Linked DNA regions of Homo sapiens: region 1 is linked to region 2. Evidence: promoter capture Hi-C in 16 types of primary human blood cells and fetal thymus (Javierre and others, 2016). All regions are on one chromosome and are shown on one strand. The core of a region is centred on a gene start or on the middle of the fragment in contact, and the rest is flanking DNA. Distances in the headings are between cores, read along the strand shown. Region 1 has its middle 60 kb from the start of APOL3. Region 2 holds the start of RASD2 (RASD family member 2).

The links. Contacts are between HindIII fragments. The CHiCAGO score rates a contact against its expected background, and 5 or more counts as called.
Region 1: a contact is called between a fragment that was not itself captured here and the fragment with the promoter of RASD2 in region 2, in 7 of 17 cell types (M2 macrophages, naive CD4 T cells, M1 macrophages and 4 more). The highest score is 7.4, in M2 macrophages.

What each region holds. Positions count from the first base shown.
Region 1 is chr22:36,097,967-36,104,435 of GRCh38, forward strand. No RefSeq gene overlaps it. Among named protein-coding and RNA genes, the nearest start is that of APOL3, 60 kb to the right of the region's middle. The HindIII fragment of the contact is 1,984 bases long and covers 2,054-4,037 here.
Region 2 is chr22:35,539,132-35,545,470 of GRCh38, forward strand. It overlaps RASD2 (RASD family member 2), which reads left to right and starts at 1,700. Exons shown (of 3, transcript NM_014310.4): 1 at 1,700-2,369. RefSeq lists enhancers at 362-924, 925-1,487, 1,488-2,050 and a silencer at 1,172-1,391. The HindIII fragment of the contact is 7,504 bases long and covers 1-6,339 here.

The sequences.
Region 1 (6,469 bases), core at 1,796-4,295, 560 kb after region 2:
ATGTAAGAAGATTACAATGTCTCCACATCCTTGCCAATATTGTCTTTTTTTTTTTTCTAATGGGTGTGAAGTATTACCTCATTTCAGTTTGGATGTACATTTCCCTAGTGACTAATGACGTGGAGCACCTTTCCATGTGTTTATTGTCCATTTACTAGCATACTATTTTTAATTCCCTTTGTGTGTGTGTGTGGGTGTGTGTGTGTGTGCGTGCACGCAATATTTAAGATCCTTTTCACCGGGCGTGGTAGCTCACTCCTGTAATCCCAGCATTTTGAGAGACCGAGGTGGGCGGATCACCTGAGGTCGGGAGGTCAAGACCAGCCTGACCAACGTGGAGAAACTCCGTCTCTACTAAAAATACAAAATTAGCCGGGTGTGGTGACGCATGTCTGTAATCCTAGCTACTCTGGGGGCTGAGGCAGGAGAATCACTTGAACCCGGGAGGCGGAGGTTGCGGTGAGCTGAGATCGCACCATTGCACTCCATCCTGGGCAACAAGAGTGAAACTCCATCTCAAATATAATATATGTATCCTTTTTATTTTCTTTTCATTCTTTTCTTTTTTTTTAAGACCGAGTCTTGCTCTGTCACCCAGGCCAGAGTGCAGTGGCATCATCTCGGCTCACTGCAAACTCCGCCTTCCAGGTTCAAGTGATTCTCCTGCCTCAGCCTCTGGAGTAGCTGGGCCCACACGCGCCCACCACCACGCCCGGCTAATTTTGTATTTTTAGTAGAGACGGGATTTCTCCATGTTGGCCAGGCTGGTCTTGAACTGCTGACCTCAGGTGATCCTCCTGCCTCAGCCTCCCAAAGTGCTGGGATTATAGACATGAGCCTCTGTGCCCAGCCTGCCTTTTTTTTTTTTTTTTTTTTTTTTGAGATAGGATCTCACTATGTCACCCAGGCTGGAGTGCAGTGGCATGATCTCCGGCTTACTGCAACCTCCTGGGCTCAAGCAATCCTCCCACCTCAGCCTCCAGACTAGCTGGGACCACAGCTGTGCACCATCAAACCTGGCTAATTTTTTGTATTTTTTTGTAACAACAGGGTTTTGCCATGTTGCCCAGGCTGGTCTGGAATTCCTGGCTCAAGTGATCTGCCTGTCTTAGTTTCCCAAAGTGCTGGGATTACAGGTGTGAGCCATTGTGCCAGCCAAGATCACTTTTTAATGGTTGCTTCGAGGATTATAATTAACATCTTAATGTAAAGCTATCTAGTTGAGATAAGTACTAACTTAATTTTAATAGTATATATAAATGTTTGTTCCACTGTGGTTGTTTTTTATCTCTTCCTTTGTGTTGGTATTATACAAATTACATTTTTATGTATTGTAAGACTATCAATACAGTTTTATAATTATTGTTTTAGGAAAATGTCTTTTAAGTCAGATAATAGGAGAAAAGAATTACAAACAAAAGACCTATGTACTGTCTTTCTTCTGTATTTACCTATGTAGTTACTTGTACTAGTTTTCTTAGTTTCTTCAAGTGAATTGTGTCTTGTGTTTCTGTTTTGAGTCCTTTTATTTCAGCACCAAGGACTTCCTTTAATATTTCTTTTTTTTGAGACGGAGTCTTGCTCTGTCTCCCAGGCTGGAGTTCAGTCGTATGATCTCAGCTCACTGCCAACTCCACCTCCTGGGTTCAAGCGATTCTCCTGTCTCAGCCTCTCAAGTAGCTGGGATTACAGGCATGCGCTACCACACCCGGCTAATTTTTGTATTTTTAGTAGAGAGAGATTTCTCCATGTAGATCATACTGGTCTCGAACTCCCGACCTCAGGTGATCTGCCTGCCTCGGCCTCCCAAAGTGCCGGGATCACAGGCATGAGCCACCACGCCCGGCCCCTTGTTTTCTTTAGTTCTTTGAATGTTTTTATAATATCTGATTTAAAACTGACAGTGACTCTAACATCTGGGCTTCTTCAGGAAGCCTCTTGTCCTTCCAGGTATGAGCTATACTTTCTTATTTGTTCATGCATTTTTGTTGGAAACGGGACATTTAATATAATATAATGGGACAACACTGGAAACCAGATTGCCCCCTTCCTAAGCTTTGTTGTTATTGTGATTGCTGTCTGTTGTTGTTGTTGCTGTTTGTTTAGTGGCTTCCCGGGACGAATTCTGTAAGATCTGTATTCTTTGTGATATACGGCCCCTGAAGTTTCTGCTAGGTAGTTAACCTAGCTACTAGACGTGGTCAGCTAATGATTACATAGATTTCCTTAAATGCTACAAGCCAGTAAGTCTCCTATCATTTGTTGAAGGGCTGTCTATTGTGTATGGAGGGTGTGACTTCAATGTTCCAGCAGGCACTCTAGAACTCTGCCTTAGCAGGCTGGGCACGTCCAGCTGTACATTTTTAATACATTAAACCACTTAGCTGTCATTGACTTAATTTCCTTTCAAGGAAATGGGTAATGCAAACGTGGCTTGAAGGCAGGACCTCTGTCTTATTATCTCTGTATTAACAGGGTCTAGGATAGTGGCTGGTACAAAAAAAATCATTAAAAGTTCCGATGAATAACTACAGATCTTATGTTTGAATTGTGCTTTGCAATTTATAAAGTGCTTTCTCATGATTTTATTCCACAGAGTGTAATTTAATTCAGCAACCTTTCCTGTCCATTAACTACATGCCAGTCACTGTGTCGAATGTCAAGGATAGAAAGATAAATAAGAAAAAGGCTTGCTCTGGAAGGTATTTTCAGTCTACTTGGCGGCACGAGATGCATGCATTAACAAGACAAATAATAGTATGGATATAAGTTCCATGCGAGAGGGCACCATATCGGCCTTGGACCACATTATACTGCAGAGTCTACAAGAATATCTGATACCTAGAAGATGTCTGTGGGTTATTAAACAGGAACACAAATTATTTTACACTCTTTCTTTTGAGAGGTAGGGTCTATTTTCCTTCCCTTTAGATTGGATGGTGATCTGGTTTGGCTGTGTCCCCTCCAAATCTCATCTTGAATTGTGGTTCCCATAATCCCCTTGTGGGAAGGACCCAGTGGGAGGTAATTGAATCATGGGGGTGGGTTTTTCTCATGCTGTTCTCATGACAGTGAATAAGTCTCATGAGATCTGGTGGTTTTATAAAGGGCAGTTCCCCTGCTGCACATGCTGTCTTGCCTGCTGCCATGTAAGATGTGCCTTTGCTCCTCCTTCGCCTTCTGCCATGATTGTGAGGCCTCTGCAGCTATGTGGAACTGTGAGGCCATTAAACCTCTTTTTTTTTTTTTTTGAGATGGAATCTCGCTCTGTCGCCGAGGCTGGAGTGCAGTGGAGTGATCTCAGCTCACTGCAACCTCTGCCTCCCAGGTTCAAGCAATTCTCCTGCCTCAGCCTCCCAAGTGGCTGGGACTACAGGTGTGTGCCACCACACCCAGCTAATTTTTTAGAGACAGTGTTTCACCGTGTTAGCCAGGATGGTCTTGATCTCCTGACCTTGTGATCCGCCTGCCTTGACCTCCCAAAGTGCTGGGATTACAGTCGTGAGCCACCGTGCCCAGCCTAAACTTCTTTTTCTTTATAAATTACCCAGTCTTGAGTATGTCTTTTTTTTTTTTTTTTTTTTTGAGACAGAGTCTCGCTCTGTCTCCCAGTCTGGAGTACAGTGGCATGATCTTGGCTCACTGCAACCTCCGCCTGCTGGGTTCAAGAGATCCTCCTGCCTCAGCCTCCCGAGTAGCTGGGATTACAGGCACCCACCACCATGCCTGGCTACTTTTTTGTATTTTTAGTAGAGATGGGGTTTCACCATGTTGGCCAGGCTGGTCTGGAACTCCTGACCTCAGGTGATCCATCCACTTTGCCCTCCCAAAGTGCAGGGATTATAGGTGTGAGCCACCATCCGGGGCCAAGTATGTCTTTATTAGCAGTGTCAGAATGAACTAATACGGATGGGCCTTGTGACTGCTTTGGTTACTGGAATACAGCATAAGTGATGCTGTATTGGTTTCAAGGTTCAAGTCTTAAGAGACCATCTGTTTCCATTTTTGGTTTCTTGGAACATTCAATCTTGAAACTAAGCTTCCTTGCCAGAAGGAAACTCAAGTATCTTTGAGGAGAAGTCCACATGGAGAGGAACTGAGGTGCCTAGTAGATAGTCCCAGCCAACAGCGTACCTCAACTCACCAGTCATGTGAGTAAACCATCCTAAAAGTGGGTATTCCGGTCCCAGTTAGGCCACCCCAGCTGACACTGCACAGAGCAGAGATGTGCTGCCCCGTGGAGCCCTGACAAAATTGTAATTTCAGAAATAAAATAAATGGCTATTATTATTTCAAGCCACTGAGTTTTAGGGTGGAGTTTAAAACAGCACTAGATGGTCACAACCATGTTGAATAAATATTTGTTGACTGCCTATGATTGTTGGTAATCTGTGCTTTTTGGAGGGATGGGGTAACACACATTATCCCATTTAATCTTCTCAACAATTCTGTTGATGAACCAACTTGCCCAAGATCATACAGCTAGTAAGTGGTAGAGGTGGGATTAGAACTCAGATCTTTCTGATGTCAGAACTAGATTTCCATCTCTATTTTCACTATGCCATGTCACCTGTCCCTAAAGAACTAGAATCCTGAGTAGCTGGGATTATAGGCATGTGCCACCATGCCCAGCTAATTTTTGTGTTTTTGGTAGAGACGGGGTTTCCCATGTTGGCCAGGCTGGTCTCGAACTCCTGACCTCAGGTGATCCGCCCATCTCAACCTCCCAAAGTACCGGGATTACAGACATGAGCCACTGCGCCTGGCCAACATCGCCTCTCAGCTGGGAGGTCATCTGGGCTGCATATGGCCTCTCCATATATCTCTTCACATGGGTGAATTTGGGCTTCTTCGGAGCATGGTGGCTCTGTGAGTGTCCCAAGAGAGCAAGGTGGAAATACATGGCATTTTTATAACCCAGAAGTCAGAAACCTCAGAAGTCACAGTTTTTCTTCTGCCATGAGGCAGTCATGAATAACTTCCCTGGCTCAAGCAGAGAAGAAGACATAGATTAAATGGTAGATATTGTGGTAGCCATTATTGGTAAATATGACCTGCTACAATGCATCTCATCGACACATTCTAAGAAAATACAAACCTCACATCCAGATCTTTCCTGTGGGTTCTTGCTAGAATGTCAGGGTGGGCAGTTGTGATGGGGGTTAAATTTGTAACACTCAGCAACACTTCTTTAAGTTATCTTTCTTGGGGGTTGGATGGACATGGTTGGCTGAGCACATGCTTTTACTACTACTTTCATTTCCAGTCCCTAGCAATGACAGAAAAGAAATATTTAAAAATATAGACTCATAATAGGGCTGGAACACTGAAGGTGTTCATGGACCATTAATGTTGAAGAATCTCGGAAGGACAGAAAGCCTCAATTTGTTGAAGAATCAATTTGTTAGAGTAAAAAAAAAAAAAAAAAAAAAAAGCCCAAAACATGTGCAGAAGGGGGCAGCTGTGAATAACAGGAATTTTTCTGGGAGTTTCCCAACTTAGAGAAACAATGAAACTGAGGAGCAAGATGAGGCTTTGAAGTTTTCATGAGGGTGGTTGAGAACTGGCATTGAGACCAAGACAGGTTGACCCTTTCCTTTATCCATTATTTTGCCAAGCAGGAAGCAGCAATGGCAATTGGCCCCAGACCAGAGCAGTGTGTCTTGGACTTGGGTGGGAAAAGCAACATACAGGAAAATATGGGACAGCGTCCTAGGCAGCTGGTGGAACCCAGGAATAATGGAAGGCCCCCTCATCCCAAAAGACAGCTTCTATACTGTATTCCCACACTTTTTCTTTTCATCATCACTGGCCCCAGTCATGCAACAAACTTCCCTCAAGTCAATAAAAGCAAAACCATTAAAGAAAAGCTCCAAGCTCTATAGAAACTGCACTAGCATTTAAGGAAATGGAAAGGAGTTTGATAGAAGTTGTTCAGTGTGCCCAGGAAGACAAGATCATACAGGATCCATGAAATAAGACGTAATAGGCCGGGCGCGATGGCTCACGCCCGTAATCCCAGCACTTTGGGAGGCCGAGGCAGGCAGACTGTCTGAACTCAGGAGTTCGAGACCAGCCTGGGCAACATGGTGAAACCTGTCTCTACTAAAAATGCAAAAAATTCGCCGGGCGTGGCAGAGTGCATCTGTAGTCCCAGCTACTCAGGAGGCTGAGGCGGGACAGTTGCTTGAACTCGGGAGGTAGTGGTTGCAGTGAGCCGAGATCACACCACTGCACTCCAGCCTGAGCCACAGAATGAGACTCCGCCTTCAAAAAAAAAAAAAAAGAAAGAAAAAGAAATAAGACGTACCCTGCCCATGTACCCTTACTGTTTCCATTTTGGTTCACGGTGACCTGATTCCAATTGCCAGTACCTGCATTTCTTTCCCTGAGGTATTCCCCCCTCCTTGTCCTCTTGTCATCTATGCCAATTAGTGTGGCATGCCTAAAGTGATGAGGAATTAGCACC
Region 2 (6,339 bases), core at 450-2,949:
AAGCAAAGCAAGTCACTTTCCATATTCAAAGTCCCAGGCCATTTTAGTACTTCTGTCATTCTGTGGACCCATCAATATCATACCCATTTTAGAGATGGCACAACCAGGACCCAGAGACTTTTCATGACGGCCCAGGGTCAGATATCTAGGTAGTTACGGAGACAGGACTTGAACGCCAGTCTCTCAGCCAATGGAGCTGACCCCTCAGGTGCCCTCCCAGACCCCTGCGTCCTCTCATGAGGTAGGGAGGCCAGATCTGGGTTGGGGGTGAGGCTGGCAGACATCCCTGAGGTCCAGGGATCTGGAACTGAGGGACACAGACACAGCATCCCATCCCTTTGCTGTATCACACAACGAGAACATTCTCTTTTAAGCCTCCTGATATGTGAAGGAGAAAGTCTCTGTTAGGTGCTAATGGGTATTTAACACCTCTCCAAACCTTGCCAATCTCCCTTTTTCACTGAGGGCACACATCTCAAGCCTTGGCAGGCCACGGTTTCCAGCTGGAATTTAATAACCTTGCTTTGTTTTCACTGTGCTTATTTTAACTCTTACTTTCTATTTATGGCAAGTGATACTGATTTCCCATTTAAGGCAGTGATATAATGATTCTCTAAAAAAACGTGTTTAAGGGGTGGGGAAAGTGGATCTGATATTTTAAAAAATATATTAAGTAATAAGTGGTGTGGAGATATGGCCCAGTGAGAAGGCCCGATGTCTGGCCTAGGTCAAGCCCCTCATTTAAAGGTGGGGAGGGAGAATGCAGGCAGGAGACGCAATGCTCAAGGCACCTGGTGTGTCCCCGTCGGCCGTGGTCTCTGAGACTCGCATGCCTCGAAGACCTCTGGCTACTAAGCCTAGGTGACTCCCCGCCCCTCTGGGCGACACGTGCATGGCCCATGTGCCAGTCCGCAGGGTCCCGTGGGCACCGTGAGCTCGGGAGGGAGGCGGCGGCTGGGACAGGCAGGTTGGACACCTGGGAGGGCACCCGGGGACTTCCGCGAAGGAGGAGGGCGCTGGAACCGTGGCGCGCTCGACCTGGCCGGGCGCAAGCCGCTGGAGACCCCGGCCGAGTGGGCAGGCGGCCGGACCCCATGCGGGTCACCTGCGGCCAGGCCGGGCGTGCGTGTGAGCGCGTGCGCAGACGTCAGCCTCCGAGGCCCGGGCCGCCTTCTGGGCAAGGTGCGCGCGCCCAGCGGCCCCGGCCCCACGCGCCCGGACACGCGGAACCGCAGACCGCGGCGCCCCGGAGGCCGCGAAAGGGATGGGCGGGGCCGGGCCGCGGGACCCGCCTCCCATTGGCCGGGCGCCGGGGCGAGGCGGGGCGCCGGGGTGGGGCGGGGCGAGCGGGCTCTGGGGGGCAGACGCTGGCGCTGGGCGGCGGGAGGCGCGGCTCGCGGGGGGCCGAAGGAGCAGGTGGGCGACGCTCGCAGGGGCGCGGGAGGGTGCCGCTGGGACCGTCATCAGGAGCCTGGGGTTCTGCCACCTTTCGGAGGGATCAGCGACCTCTTCGCCCTGCGGGTGACAGTGGGGCATCTGCCTGCGAGAGGGGGAAGGAGGGAGAACCCAGGGCCACACACAAAGTTCTCCTCATCTGGGGACAGGAGGAGGTGAAGGAGGAGGAGCCGGGTTGATGCTAACTTGGAGCTGCGAAACCTTGGGGCGGCGTTCAAGGCCCCCTCCCACACGCGCGCAGAGCAGAGCGCCCTGCTCCTCCTTCAGCTGCTGGCGTCGCCGCGCGGGGAGAAAGAAGCCGTCCCTCCGGCGCTGGGAGAGCTGCAGAGCCGCGGGCAGAGAAGGAGGCCGCGGCCGAGCCCGGCAGCCCGATACCCCCCATCCGAGCGACCCCCTTTGGGGCAGGCGGAGAAGGTGGCATAGGCGACCAGGAGGGTTCGCCCACCTGGGACACGCACCCACAGTCACCTCCAAAGGACCCCCCCTCCCCAAGTCTCTAGGAGCTGCTCCTTCATCACTGGAGTCGCCCCTACCTCTCTGCCCCCAGCCCGAGAGCCCCAGGCGGGGACCCCCGGATCGGACGTCCCCAAGCCTCCGGGCACCTGGCTCAGCAGGAGGCCCCCGGCTCGGGGCAGGGCAGGGCCGGCGGCGGCGAGCCGGAGCCCGCCCCCTGCCCGGGCCCCGCCGAGCCCTCGGAGCCCACCCATGGGGCACCTGCCCCTTGCGCCTCCTTGCCCGGCCGCGCCCAGCCCGGCGTCCCGAGCAGCGCAGGGGAGGATCCCCGCGCAGTGACCCGGGAGCCACCACAGACTCTGGGAGGCTCGGCGGCTGGAGCAGCAGGCAGCTCCCCGCAGCTCCCGGCGCTTCCAGGCAGCTCTCTGAGCCGTGCCAGAGGCCCGGCCCGCCATTCCCAGGTAGGAGACGCCCCAACAGAGCTGGGCATCTGGGGGAAGTGGAGCAGCCGGGAAGAAAGGGTAGAGGCTTGGAGGAGGAAAGCTCAGTGATTCCTTAGATGACCAGAGAAAGTGAAATTGATTGAGCACCTACTATGTGCCGGGATCGTCTGGCAACTTTGCATACCTAGAGAGAATTAAATTCGTTGAGCACCTACTGTATGTGTCAAACTGAGTGCTATACCCTTGACTTAATCCCAGGAAAGAAAGATTTATTGAGCTTCTACTATGTGCTAGTTTTGGTGCCACAGGCTTTGCATTTAAAGAGCTAGAGTAATAGCCCATTTAAATAGGAGGAAACGGGGGCTCAGGGAAGACGAGTCAACTACCACAAACACTCCTGTCCCTCTTCTGGAGCTGGCTGCAGCCTGCATTACCTGGAGGTGGGGAAGGAAGATTAAGAAGCTCCTTCGTTATCCAGAGTTCTTGAGCTTTTTCTGGGTTGGTGCAGAGTGAGTTTCCTGGATGATTCCCTTCCCAGGAGGGGTTTCCTGTAACTTAGCTGTCTTGGAGGGCCCGGAAGGCAGCTCTGGAGGCCTCTCTGTGCCCTCCCCTCCCCTTGTCCCCAGCACCAGGAGGATGACAGGGGATGTTGTCCAAGACCTCATGGAAGGTGGGAAGCCAGGCTGGGAGGGAGCAGCCAGGTCAGGAGCCAGTGAATCAAGCCTCCTGTGGTGTCAGAGACAAGATGGGGTCCCTGCAAGACCTGCGCCTGCATTCCAGTCCAGCCTCACCAGGCTGCTCTAGGCAGCCCCACGACTGCCAAGATAAAGTGCCACGAAGAAAAGAACCCAGCATGTGTTCAGGTTTGCTGCGGGTCAAGAGCTGGGTCAGCCTCCAGACTTATTGGAAACCCAGGGCCACACAGGGGGTTTATGTCTTACCATTAACAGAGGAATAACCTGAGCCCCAGGAAGCCAAGTCATTTGCCCAGGGCTGCCGGGCTGGTGAGAGGCAGAGTTGGCCTGCCAGAAGTGGATGCCTGCCTACCTTCTACCACCTGAGCTGCCAAGGGTGGTGGGGTTGGCTTTGCCAAGCTCCCGGACTCTCAGAGTGGCAGCTGGAAGCCAGTGATGGCAATGTGCGTGTCCAAAGAGGCTGAGTGTGCACTGATGGAGGAGGCATGGGGGTGTGGAGGAGGGGCAGTGCAGTGAAACAGGCTCTGGGGCATACACCGGGAGGACACGTCCAGACTCTTGTCCTGCTGCCTGTGCCCGTGTGACCCCTTCATCTTTCAGGCAGGCCCTGGGAGAGAGGCTCAAGGGAGAAGTGGTGAATCCACAGGTGCACTTGCTCAGAGGTGGCTGGCAGGGTTAGGGGAGAATCCTGGGAGGTGCCTGCCCCCTTTCCGCTCCGCTGCCTGCAGGGAGAGAGGGAGTGAGAATATAGTATGTCTCGGCGTCATCCCCCCGCCTGATGCCAGCTGAGGCTTCACTGAGACAGACAGTGTTTTGGAAAAGACCAGTTTTGGCTGGGGGTGGGTTTTCATAGAGTTAAGAGCCCAGACTTTGAAGCCAAACAGCCTGGTTCTGATCCCAGCCCAGCTAGTCATCTGCTGTGTGAACTGGGGCAAGTGACTTAACCTCTCTGAGCATCAGTGTCCCCATCAGTCAAGTGGGCTGATGGATGCCTTCCTGGCTGTGGTTACTGTGCCCCCAGGATGGCGTCCCCTCATCTCTGCTCTGGGAACTTTCTGGCTTCCACCTGTCCTCAGAATGGCCCTGTGATGGGGTCAGTAGTCACAGTATGTGCATTCAGATACCTGTGCCGCTAGGGGGTCTCCGTTGAATTTCCTGCCTCTCTGAGCCTCCTCTCTCTGATTCCTTACTTCCCCTCTCTGATTCCCTGCCTCCTCTCTCTGACTTCCTGAAATCCATTCAGTCACTGATATTGGACTCTAAATTCCCAAAGGGCTCTTCAAACTCATCCCTGTCTGCTCCTCGCTGTATGAGGTCAGCCTGGCTGAGGATGGAGAAGGGAGAACAGGCTGCAGAGGAGAGATGTGCCTACGAGGGTGCCCATGGTGCCACCTCTGGGGGAAGAGAGGGAAGAAAGATGTGGAGGCAGGAGGCGGAGCCCACAGAGGCACTGTCCCCTGGCGTCCAGGTGTCCAGATGTCTCACACAGCCCCACGTGGCTCAGGCCATGTGAAGAATCAGTCTTCTCTCAGAGATAAAAACCACAGAGGATTTTTTTTCTCTTTTTCCCCACCCTGATTCCCTGTCTCTTATTTCTGACTCCTTGCCTCCTCTATCTGTCACCTTGCCTCCTCTCTCTGACTCTTTGCCTCCTCTCTGACTCCCTGCCTCCTCTCTCTGTCTCCCTGCCTCCTCTGTCTGACTCCCTGCCTCCCCTCTCTGTCTCACTGCCTCCTCTCTCTGACTCTCTGCCTCCTCTCTCTGACTCCCTGCCTCCTCTCTCTGATTCCCTGCCTCTTTGACCCTCTGCCTCCTCTCTTTGACTCCCTGCCTCCTCTCTCCGATTCTCTGCGTCTTTGACTCCCTGCCTCCTCTCTCTGACTCCCTGAAGCTCATTCAGTCATTGCTATCAACTCGTCTGTACCAAGCTCTAGGCTGGAGGCTGGGCAGGGCAATGATGGAGACAAATACTGTCCCTGGGAGCTTCTGGCCCCTTTCCCATCCTGTTTAGACAGAAGTGACCGCCAGCAGAGTCAAGCTGTCTGCAGAAGGACTTGGGGAGGGGGCTGTCATGGGGTAGGGCTTCTTTCCCCCCATCTCTGCTGAAGGCCCAGGCTGGCTGAGACAGCCCCGGCAGAGACTGAGAAGGGCTCCCTGCTGTGGTCTGGCAGCCCCCTCTCCACCCTCCTCTCTCTCATTTCCTGCCTCCCACACGTATGCCCTGGGCACCTCATCAGGGCTGCCCTAGGGGAGGGCCCTCCTTGGCACAGCCCCTGGGCCAGTCAGGTGGTTGAGGCTGAGGAGAGAAGGTCCCAGAGTGGGGCTTCAGGCAAACCCAAAGACAGAGCCCTTTGCCATTTGATGAATGCACAGACCCTTTATTGAGCCCCTGCTCTGTTCATGGCATGGCAGTTTTGTGGGATAAATTCAAAGACAGCTTTAGGTGGGAGCTGGGTGGGGGATGTGGGGGTCTTAGGCTTGAACTACTACCCAGCCTCCTTTGTTAACCAAGTAGCTAGTCACGTAGCCTTCTGAGCTCGGGGCAGACCACCTGGGATCAAACCTCTCCTCTGCTGGTTACTGGCTGTGCAACTGTAAGCAAGTAATTTAACCTCTCTGTGCCTCAGTTTCCTCATCTGTAAATTGGAGAATAACACCACCTGCTTTCTGGGGTTATGAAGGGAGAAATAGGTTAACATGTGTGCAGCACTTAGAACACTCTGGCATATTTTAGCTGCAAAATGAATGCCAGCTATGATTATTTCTATACTTAGTGCGGGGCTTGGCACACTGCATGGGCTCAAGTGGCAGCAGTTGTCGTCCTTGTGGCTCCAGGCCTGGGGTCCGCCGTGTGCTGAGCTGGCTTATTGTGCACGTCCCTTTGTGATTCATTCATCGAAGTCACATTAGTAGCTTAGAAGTGACCGTAGTGGGAGCATTTACGCCATGGAAATTGGCAATAGGGCTTTTAACAAAGGTATTTTTGAGAGCCGGTTTCCTGCACAGAGGCTGGTAGTTGGGCAGGGTGAGCAGATCCAGATGTGTGCCAGGGACTCGCACGCAGGCAATCTCTCCACCTCCAGTGGCCATCTCAGACCTTAGCTTCATGATAGCCAGGAAGCGATGGTGTTGGAAAGCGCCTTGGGTCAATGGGCGAGGCACTCAAGGAAACCGACTTGGGGCATCCTGGGGTGGGGACCGAGTTTGGGCACATACAGCCCTTTGTGTGAATTTAAAAACAGTGCCTTTTCCTCTACACAAGATGCCCTTTCGTCTGGGATACAGCCCCCACC